2 separate regions of the Homo sapiens genome follow, and region 1 is linked to region 2. Evidence: promoter capture Hi-C in 16 types of primary human blood cells and fetal thymus (Javierre and others, 2016). All regions are on one chromosome and are shown on one strand. The core of a region is centred on a gene start or on the middle of the fragment in contact, and the rest is flanking DNA. Distances in the headings are between cores, read along the strand shown.

Region 1 (5,626 bases), core at 2,320-4,819, 670 kb before region 2:
AAATACAAAAATTAGCCAGGTGTGGTGATGCACGCCTGTAATCCCAGCTGCTTGGGAGGCTGAGGCAGGAGAATCGCTTGAAGCTGGGAGGCAGAGGTTGCAGTGAGCCAAGATCTCACCACTGCACTCATTCTGGACAACAGAGTGAGACCCTGTCTTCAAAAAAAAAAAAAAAGAAAGAAAGAAAAGAAAAACTGCATTTTGAAAATGAGGGTGAAAAAAAAATTTTCAGACAAAGAAGAATTAATATAACTTGCTTACTAAATGAAATTCTAAAGAATATACTTCAGGCAGAAGAAGCAATAGAAGATAAAGAAAAGTGTGGTCCTGGGACAAAGGTACCAGACCTTTGTCTCAAGCTGTGCATTCATATATCCACTGCCTACTCTACATCTCCACTAGTACATATACTAGACAAGTCTAACTTTGCACAGCCAAAACTGAACTCCTGATCTTCCCCCCACATAAATGGTAACTCTGTCCTTCAAGTTGCCATTTAAAACACTTTAGAGTCACCCGACTCTCCTCTCTTTCATACTCCCCATCTGAAAATTATATTAGCACTAGTTTCATAATATATTCTGAAACTGCCTAGTTCCTACTACCTTCATAAGCCACAATCACCTCTCACTGAGATGGCTGCAAAAACTTTCTAACTGGTCTTCCTACTCTACCCTTGCCGCACCTCCCAGGGTCTAATCTCAACACAGCAGCTGGAATCTGCTTTAATAGAATGCTTTAACAACGGCTCTGCTCAACTCCTCAATGGATTCCCATTACATTCAGAGTAAAAGCCAAAGTCTTATAATGGCCTGTAATGCTCCATGTGATCTGTTCCCCATCTATATCCCTGACCCCTCATCTCCTCCTTTTTTTTTTTTTTTTTTTCCAAGTCTCGCTCTGTCGCCCAGGCTGGAGTGCAGTGGCGTGATCTCGGCTCACTGCAAGCTCCACCTCCCGGGTTCACGCCATTCTTCTGCCTCAGCCTCCGGAGTAGCTGGGACTACAGGCGCCCGCCACTATGCCCGGCTAATTTTTTGTCTTTTTAGTAGAGACGGGGTTTCACTGTGTTAGCCAGGATGGTCTCGATCTCCTGACCTCGTGATCCGCCCGCCTCGGCCTCCCAAAGCGCTTGGATTACAGGCGTGAGCCACCGCGCACAGCCTCTCCTACTTCTTACCCCTTCATTTACTGGGCTCCAGCCACACTGGCCTCCTTGCTAGTCTTTAAAAATGCCATATACCTTCCCAAGTTCTCACTGGCTGCATTCTGCCTGGAATGCTCTTGTCCAGGCGGAGATATGCCACATGGCTCTCTCACCACCTTAAAATTTTTGTTTGAGCTCCACCTTTTCAGGAAAGCCTACAGCCACCAAGCACCTAAAACTGCAACCTGGCGCATGCAGAGTACTTGATGAATGTTTGTTAAATCATTTGCCAATAAATGAACTATGTGGGTCAAGTGAAATACTATCTGAAGCCATTGTAGTAATGCCCCATGGGTTTTATTTTTTAAGGAGAGAACTAAAATACATGAAAACTAAACCCAGAGAATTAAAATACATGACAATAATAACATACAAATCAAGAGGGCTGTAATTGGAGTTACAGTAAGTTAAAGAGGGATGCAATATGGAGAAAGTAAAGATATTGATTAATTTTAAACTATTACAAGACAGCCAGACACAGGAGTGTATATTGTAGGAACTTGCTGCCTAAAAACGAGCAAAATGAATCTCTGGTGATAGAGGTGAGGACAGCTGTGAGCTCAGGAATGGGTATGTGTGTCAATGACTAGAGAGGGACATTAGAGGGGCTTCCGGGGAGCTATGTGTTTGTCACAGGGCTGCGCTCCCGTTGCCTAAATTCACTGAGCTGTGTACTACGAGTTGTTCTTTTCTGGGGGTATAGATGTCACACTTAAATGGTAACCACTAAAAAAATTAGAATGCAGTGAATAACTTCCAAAGTAGAAGAGGGGGGAAAGAAATAAGAGGAAAAAACAAAACAAAACAAAAAACCTCAATCTAAAAGAAAGCAATAAAGGGAAAGAAAGAGCCAAAAAGGTAAACGAATAGAAATTATAAAATAAGATAATTGAAATTCATCTATGTATATCAAGAAGTACAATGAATGAGAATGTATAAATATATCAGTTAAAAGACAAGAAATTTCAAACTAGATATTTTAAAAATTCGATTATATCCTGTTTATAAGGGACACATGTAAACAGAACAAAGGATATAAAAAGGATGAAATTACAGCATTGGGAAAGATACCTCAGAAAAATACCAAGCAAAAGTATGCAGGTAAATGGTGTTAATGAATAACAGACCAAAAAAAGAAAAAAAAAAAAAAAAAAGGCTTCCAGGCAAAAAGCCTTATTAGAAATAGAGGGTTATATAATCCCTTTACTATTAAGTACTGAAGGATGTAATTCTCAATTTGCCCACCTAATAACATAACCTCAGAACTGGCAGAGCTACAAAGGGAAATACATGAGGACAACTCTCACTAAATAGTAGACTGAACTGACAAAAAATTAGGAAGCAGATCAAAGATATCAATGGCACCATTAATAAACTTAATCTGATGAACATGTATGTAGAATATAGTCAACAACTGTAAAATATACTTTCTTTTTATGCGCACATTGACCATTAATATTGGTGTATGTCAGGCTCTAAGACTAGGCTCAGCAGCTTTCAAGGGATTGGTATCACAGACTATATTCTCTAACCAGAATGCAAAAAGACTAGAAATCAAAAAAACAGGAAAGTACTTATTTCCAGTAATTTAAAAAACACATATCAATGGTGAAGAGAAATCAAAATAGATATGTTTAGAAGCAAACAGTAAGAAATAGATTGCACATCAAAACTTACGAGATAAAGCCACAGCAGTACTTGAAGGAAATTTATAACCTTAAATATTTATATTAGAAAAGAAGAAAGGCTGCATTAAAAAGCTAAGCTTCAAATAAAGGAAGGAAATAATAAAGATAGGAACAGAAAGCTTCAAAACAGAACAAACATACAAGGGAGAGCTTGGGAGACATTACTATAAATTCTGTGGAGATTAAACCCATAATAAAGGAATAACATAAGCAACATTTTAACAATACATTTGAAAATTTAGATGAAATGGACAAATTATAAGTGTGGTAAGTCTAGATTGTATTTTTTATATTTAAAAAATTTGTAATATTCATTTTAACACATGCTTAAAATTAAAACGACATCATACTTAAAACAAAAAAAACCATACCATTTATAGGCAGAAAACCTTTGTTTTTTTAACTTCAAAACTCAGGTGACTGAGCATAAAAACTGTGGGTTTTTTCTTTTAACCCACAGCAGAGACAGGAAACCCCACCTAGGTGCATTAGGTGCCTCAAAAGGGTACAACGCTAGCAGGACTAAGCAGTTCAGATGCAGTCCAGAAACAGCAATCACTTGCTCCAAATAGAAAAATGAAGCTTCACTGACAGCTGACATCTGCACCATGCTTCACAGTATCTGAAGATTTTTTTTCCTATGTACATCAGCTATTTAAGTAGACACACATTTTCTTACATTTAAGATAAATAATAGTTAACGGCTACCACTTATTAGACATATATGTGTCAGGAACTGTCCTGGATGGCTTACATACGTTCTTTTCAAGCTTTACAGCACAACCAGATGCTGTAATCCCAGTTTTACAAATTAACAATCAGTAGACTGATTTGCTCATAGACTCACTCTTTTTTTTTTTTAGGTAAATAAATAATTATTGTTCATTTATTTGACTATGAAAGAAGAAAACAAACATTTATTGAGTGCCATTTATTTTTAAACTGTACAAGTCTGTGAGGTAAGTACGGCTACCTCTACTTTTATATAAAGGGAATTTACACAATTGGCTTAAGGTTGAAGAAATAGTGTCCAGGTTCAAAATCTGGTGTTCCTCATTCTGAAATCACATAGTCTGTATATTGGGCCACACATAAAAAGGAAAATAGTTTATCTTCTTCTCTCTTGCAAATAAGGACGGAGTTATTTTCTAGTGAGAAATAATTCTTATACACTTTGGTTACTGGAAACTTACTTTTTTCAGATGATGCATTAAATAAAGAAACCAGAGCTTAGCTTTACCTCTTTTGATATTGAAGTACATTAGCTGTGTCTCAAGGATAGGGGCTCCCATATATCCATGCTGCCTTAATAGGGGCTATAGTCTCAAGAGGATCTGTGCATTCTCTCCCATCACCCTACCTCTCACCTGAACTTTTGGAAAGATAATCTGGCCTGGAAGGAGAAGAAAATGGAGACAGAAATTTCCCCGGGTGAATTCTCACCATATAAGAAGTGAATCTGTAAGTAGCATTTAACACTGTATTATATATTGCAGTTTTTAAATACATGTCTTATATCTCCTACTCTCCTATAAGCATCTGCTCATAGACTCACTCTTAACCACGTGGGTACAAGATGCAAACCCAAGTCTAGCTGATGCCTCCCTTCATCCATCCTTTTAAACAGGAGGGCTCCAGGCAGGAAGTTGTCCACAGAGCCACAGTGAGTTCAAAAGAGGCTCTGTCCAAGATCAGCCCACCACAGCTCATACAAAGCACCCACCTTCTGGATGATGTTTCGCAGAGCAAAATACTTCTCAGTGAGGTCCCCAGCCTCACTCAGTGGGGCATCATAGTCGTAGCTGGTGGGCTGTGCTGCATAGGGTGAGTTGGCCCCTAGAAGACAAAAATGTGCCACTAGTTATTACTGATGGTGCAGCTCTGGGACAAGTTCTTTGGGATCCATGAGCTCAGCACTGTAGAGAGAGAAAACTAGAAGACACATTAAAACCACTTGTTGGGAGACACAGACGTGACCCTCAGGATGCAACGTTTAGAGGAAGGAATTTCTTTCTACAGGTAGCAGTTACCAGGCACCTTAGAGTTTACCAAGGACTCTTTCCATCCACTCTCTACAGAAGCTCACAGCTGTGATTCTAGCAGGTATCACCCCCACTGGACAAGCAGGGAATCTGAAGCTCCCCACAAAAATCTGCTAACACCTCACAAGCAGTAATGGCAGGGCTTATGATATGACCCCCATCTCTGACTGTTAATCCTGTCAACTCTGAACTTTTTCACGTCCTCAAGCTGTGGCTGAGAAAAGCTCAGTGGTGAAGACACAGATGACTAGGCCATGGATCAGCAGAAAACCCAGGGCTTATTAAACCAAACACAGCGGGAGATGACAGCAGACCCACATCAGCCACAGAGGTTCAAACATAATCCGAGGGCCTTTGTTGCATCTACAAAGACTGTCGATGGGGCTGTGGTGCACCTCTTGGATCCCCCTTTAGAACCAGGGCACTCACTCATTCTCCCAGCAGCTAGGGCTGTTGTCTGCTGACATTTCTCAGATGTGTCCGTCTCTGGGTGCTGGCCTGTGCTGAGCTGCCTCACCCAAGGTTACAACCCTCAGGGATAGCCCACATCCAACAACTGACCAATGTGCCTCGAACAGCCAACCCAGCTGCAGAGCTCCCTCTAAGATTGGATGAGGCCACTTGTGAAGCTGCATCATAGCCCCACTTCTCCCTCTCTATCCTACAGGCATTGCTCCAGAGAGCACAAT
Region 2 (5,632 bases), core at 531-3,030:
CGTGTAGAAGATGGCACACCAATCTTAACTTCGGAAGGGGTGCAAACATTACCAAAGCGCTGTCTTTCTACAACAGTCTATGCTGTAGCATAAAATCAACTATCTTGAGTGTGAATATGTATATGCCTTTCTTACAGAGTAAATTTAGCTTGTTTCTTCCAAAGAAATAATCTCCCAAATGGTAATGATATATTATTAAATTACCTTTTCCCCAAACGTTTTAAAAATAATAATCAAGAGATGGTATGTAATGAAGCATCGACGTGGGTAACTCTCAAACTTTATTGTCCTTGTAAAAAGTCTAACCTTTCCAAAACTCATCTGGGCTTTACCATTAAATCTGCGTCATAATTCTAGAGTTTGTCTTTCTTCTCTTTTTGAATAAAAGGTTTCAAAGTACAGCCTATTCGCTGGATCATGAGAATATGTTACTAAGAAGAATCACTTCATCCATGGGAAGCTGCAGTCAGCATTTTAAAGCAACACTGCCACCAGAAGACAAGAAAGAAAAGTAACTACTAACGACTACGGGGCAAGTTAAATACAAAATATTTACCTGGCCTCCCAACGCGGCTACATTACACCCTGCCTACCACCAACTCTTCAGAAAGGCTCATTCTTTCTCGCACCTCATCTTTGTAACTTTTTCCCCCCCAGCATTAGCCTATCTACTAAGACACATCAACCTAAAATCGTATCCTAATGTCCTATCTGTTGGTCTGGGTAGTGTTTACACAGGTGAACACAAATGTCGAAGTCTTTCACTGATTTTTTTTTCAAAATAAGTGATCAACATTGTGTCCTAGTAACTCCGCAACGTGTCACGGAATCGCTGAATTTGTCATTGTCCACAAGTGTAGAAAAATGTGGTCACAAGTCAGTCCTCGGCTCGCGTACGAAGAGGCGGTCTGCCCAGTGGGGACGCGGGACCCCCCTGTTTCCCCTATTTTTATTTATTTTTTACTTTTTTTGAGACAGAGTCTCACTCTGTCGCCCAGGCTGGAGTGCAGTGGCTCGATCTCGGCTCACTGCAACCTCTGCCTGCTAGATTCAAGCGATTCTCCTGCCTCAGCCTCCTGGGTAGCTGGGATTACAGGCGCCCGCCACCACGCCCGGCTAATTTTTGTATTTTTAGTAGAGACGGGGTTGCACCATGTTGGTCAGGCTGGTCTCGAACTCCTGACCTCGTGATCCGCCCGCCTGTGCTTCCCAAAGTGTGTTTCCCCTCTTAAGCAGTGGTTCGGACGGGAGCTTTCCCGGCCCGGCGCTCGCGTCCGGGATTAAAGGGCTGCCGCGGAGGGCGTGACCAGCCCAGCCTCGCCGCCGTCGCTTACCCGGTAGTTGCTCGAACCCACCCAGCCGGTGAGCGCGTCGACTGTCTTGCCTAGGCGGCCCAGGTCCTCCTCCAGGTCCGAGATGGCGCCGGGGGCGCCAAGGTAGAGCAGGAGCTCCTGGCCGACCTGCAGCCGGCCGCCGACGTCCTTCTGCTGCACCTGGGCGCAGAAGTACTCCATGCTGCGGGGCTCCATGGCTGCGGCCGCCCGCCCGCCTGCCAGTCTGTGAGCGGCCAACTTTCGCCGAGAGCCGCCCAGCCTCCAGTGCGGGTCCCCGCGGGAGCGGGCGGGACTCACTTAGCCCGCCAGGGGCGCGGCTTGCGGGGCGCAGCGGGCGGCGGGAGGAACGCCAAGCGCCCAGCCGCCCCCAAACTAGTCAAACTCGGCGCCCCCCGATCCCCAGCCCGCTTCAGAGGCCGCGGCCGCGGGCGACGTCAGCACGCGCGTGACGTCAGCACGACGCCGGCGAGGGCCCTCCAGTCCGGCTAGCGTTTTGCTGCGGAGGTGGTGGAGGTGGCTGCGGAAACCGCTGGGAGCGATAGGACCTCTAGGGAGACTTGGGGTCCGAGTTGGGCCGAGCCCCCTGGGAGGCGGGCCGTTCTTTGCTAGCCGCTGTCAGGGCACCCTGCCCTCGCCCTGTGAAATGTGGAACGTTTCCAAGTTTGCCTCCACTTGTATTCAACACTTAGGAAAGTACTTGGCATCCCCCTTTCCCGCCCCCACTGCCGGTTTAAAAAAAAAAAAAAAAAAGAATACACTCCTGACTTCTGCTTCCAGCCACCACCACAGTCACTGTGTAATACTTAAAAAAACAAAACAAAACAAAACTTAGGTTTGCCTAAAGTAAAACGCACAGATTTTCAGCGTACACTTCATGAGTTTCGGCAAATGTATTCACCCGTGGAACCGCCACCCCAGTGAGGGTACAGCACGTTTCCAACACCCCAGGAAGTCCCAGGACACTTCCCAATTATCTGCTCTTCCCTAGGCAATTCTAATTTGATTTCTAGCATGGTAACATAGTTTTCCCTGTTCCTGAACTTCATACAGTCTGTGCTTCTTTGGAGTCTGGTTTCTTTTAGCATAACGTTTGGGGTCCATCCAGCGCTGTTGGTGTCTCAGAAGTCCATTCCTTTTTATTGCTTTCCATTCTGTGGAATCACTACCATTTGTCGATCCATTCACTTGTTGGTAGATATTTGGGTTGTTTCCTATTTTTTATAATTATGAATAAAGCTGCTACAACGGTTAGTGCACAAGTTTTTGTGTGGATATATTTTCTTCTCTCATGGGTAAATAAATACCAAGGACTGGCATTACTAGGTCTTGTAAGTTGTATGTTTAACTTTAGAAGAACCTGCCAAATTGTTTACCAAAGTGACTGGATCATATTAAATCCCCACCAGCAATGCTTGAGAGTTCCAGTTGCTCCACAATATTTGATATGGTCAGGGTTATTAGTTTTAGCCATTCTGGTGGGGGTAAAGTTGTCTAATACATTCCAAAAGCACACTGTGTTTATCTTCTTGACAATTATTCCCAATCACAACAAAATGATTATTTATGTAATATCTTTCTCTTCTAATACACAGAAAGCTCCAGGAACCTTTGTGTTTTCCTAGGGTGGTGCCTAGCAAATAATGGGTGGCCAATTTAAGTTAAATGAGTGAATGAATTCAACAAAAATTGATATTTGAAATATTCACAATAACTAAGAATAAACAAACTCAAAATTCAAAGAAATTGACTGTTTTCTGTGTTCTTTTTTCAGTATTTCTGTGTTTCACATTGTATTGAGTTTGTAAAGTTTCTTCCATCTTTAATTGGTTGTAATTTCCCTCAGACTATGCCTCAATCAAGTAAACTATGTGTGATGGTTAATTTTATGTGTCAACTTGACTGGGGCAAGAGATGCCCAAATAGCTGGCAAAACATTATTTCTGAGTGTGTCTGTGAGAGAGTTTATGGAAGAGATTATCATTTGAATTGGTGAGCTGAGTAAAGCAGATGGCCCTTCCCAATGTCAGTGGACATCATCCAATTCGTTGAGGCCTGAACAGAACACAAGTGTGGAGAAAGGCCAAATTCACTCTCTCTGCTCGATCGGAAACATCCATCTTTTCCTGCTCTCAAAGATGGGTGCTCCTGGTTCTCAAACTTTAGTATTCAGACAGAAACTTATATCATCAGTCCTCCAATTCTCAGGCCTCCAGACTAGGACTGTATTACACCACCAGGTTTCCTGGTTCTCCAGCTTGCAAACAGCAGACATGAGACTTCTTGCCTCCCTTAACCGTGTGAGCCAATTCCTATAATAATTATCCTCTCATTAGGCCAAGTGCAGTGGTTCACACTTGTAATCCCGGCACTTTGGGAGACTGAGGTGGAAGGATCGCTTAAGCCCAGGAGTTCAAGACCAGCCTGGGCAACAAAGTGAGACCTTGTCTCTCCAAAAATAAAATCAATAAATTAGCCAAGCATGGTGGTGCACACCTGTGGTCCCAGCTACATGGGAGGCTGAGGCAAGAGGATCACTTGAGCCCAGGAGGTCGAGGCTGCAGTGAGCTGTGTTTGTGCCACTTCACTCCAGCCTGGGTGACAGAGCAAGACCCTGTCTCAAAAAAAAAATTAAAAAATTAAAAAAAATGATTCTCCACATATCTATCTACCGGTTCTGTTTCTCTGGAGAACCCTGACTAATACATTATGGTAACTATTCCTTGGGTTTGAGTGTCCAAAGGTTCTGTTCTTAAAGGGTTGCAGAAAGATATAAAAAGAGGATCCTATCCAGAAGAACTTTACACTGTAATTGCTGGTGACCAGGTGCAGTATGTGGTATAGAAAAAAAAAAATGCAGGAGCCCTGGATTCTAGGTTCAGCTCTACCTGTTCCTGTGACCAAAGGTGACTGCTGCTCTTCACCCTTGGTTGTCTCTATTCCCTTTCTGAACTTAATGTAAATTGAAAATCACACTAGGTCATTTTTAAGTTATAAGTTAACTAAATCATCTTTAGGAGTAACTCTGGAAGAACCTGTAAAATTATTATTAATTATCATTTATTGTGTTTTATTTTTAGTAGAGATGAAGTTTCATTGTGTTGCCCAGATTATTCTCGAACTCCTGGCCTCAAGCAATCCTCACACTTTGGCCTCCCAAAGTGGTGGTATTACAAGCATAAGCCACTGCACCTGGCCTATAAAGTTAATAGTAAACATTGGTCACTATTACTTATATATTCTTTCTGTGTTTCATTAATTCATTAACAAATATCCTCTGAGCACCTATATTGTGCTAGATACTGTGCCAAAGTTCCAAAGACCCAAAATTCATTTAGACCTGGTCTCTGCCCACAAGCTCTAGTAGGGACAAGAAAATCAACATTTCTGAGATGCTGTGATAGGGTAAACAGAGGGTTTTTGAAACCTAGATGAGAGGCTCCTTATCTAGATAGTACTTAGTATGGGAGTAGAAAAGTTATAAATTAAAGAAGGCTTCTTGGAAGAGGTTATATTTAAATTGAACTTTGAGGATAACTAGGAATTAACTAATTAAAGAATTGGTTTCCTGGGGAGTTGCATGTTTGTCTACAAGATGTAGTCTCAACTATTTTGATTAACCATTTGTTATTATCAGTATATACCCACTACAAAATCTACATCTTTATTTATATCACTGTTATCTGTCCTAGGTTCAACATTGTTAGAGCTGAAAGTTCACAAAATTGCTAGCACCTCAGTCATTTTTTCACAGCATCCCTAGACCAAAAGAAACACCTAAGAAGTCCACTAAATAGGTGAGATCCAAACAACTTAGTATTTATATCCTAGCAACTTACTAGGCATATGAAAAAAATATGCAAATCAAAAATTGTATTTTAAATTTCATTCTTGAACAACCACACTTACAAATGAGATATCGGTGCCTACTGGTTACTGCCCAATTTCTCTAACCTTGGAATGAGACTGAATATCATCATTCTCATCCTGTTGCACATCAATACTCAGGCAGTTGAGCACATCAATACTCAGCTTGGCTAATTTTTCTATTTTTTGTAGAGACAGGGTCTCATTTTGTTGCCCAGGCTGGTCTTGAACTCCTGGGCTCAAAGATTTGATTGATTTTTTTTAAATCAACACAACCACAAAAAACACAGCCTTGCAAAGATATGACATCAACAAAAAAAATGTGCTACAATACAAAGACACGACATCAATGAAAAAAAATGTACCACAATCTCATATTGAAACCATGCACTACTTGGAGCCATTACATGTCTCACAAATGCCCATGATCACCA

Evidence for each region. The method cuts DNA at HindIII sites, captures the fragments that hold promoters and counts their contacts. A CHiCAGO score of 5 or more calls a contact.
Region 1: a contact is called between a fragment that was not itself captured here and the fragment with the promoter of CLASP2 in region 2, in 1 of 17 cell types (naive CD4 T cells). The highest score is 5.0, in naive CD4 T cells.

Annotation. Positions count from the first base shown.
Region 1 is chr3:33,041,502-33,047,127 of GRCh38, forward strand. GLB1 (galactosidase beta 1) reads right to left here. Exons shown (of 16, transcript NM_000404.4): 10 at 4,619-4,731. Among named protein-coding and RNA genes, the nearest start is that of GLB1, 53 kb to the right of the region's middle. The HindIII fragment of the contact is 188 bases long and covers 3,476-3,663 here.
Region 2 is chr3:33,716,474-33,722,105 of GRCh38, forward strand. It overlaps CLASP2 (cytoplasmic linker associated protein 2), which reads right to left and starts at 1,781. Exons shown (of 39, transcript NM_001365631.1): 1 at 1,335-1,781. The coding sequence starts at 1,529. RefSeq lists a silencer at 1,513-1,852 and an enhancer at 2,053-2,142. The HindIII fragment of the contact is 12,344 bases long and covers 1-5,632 here.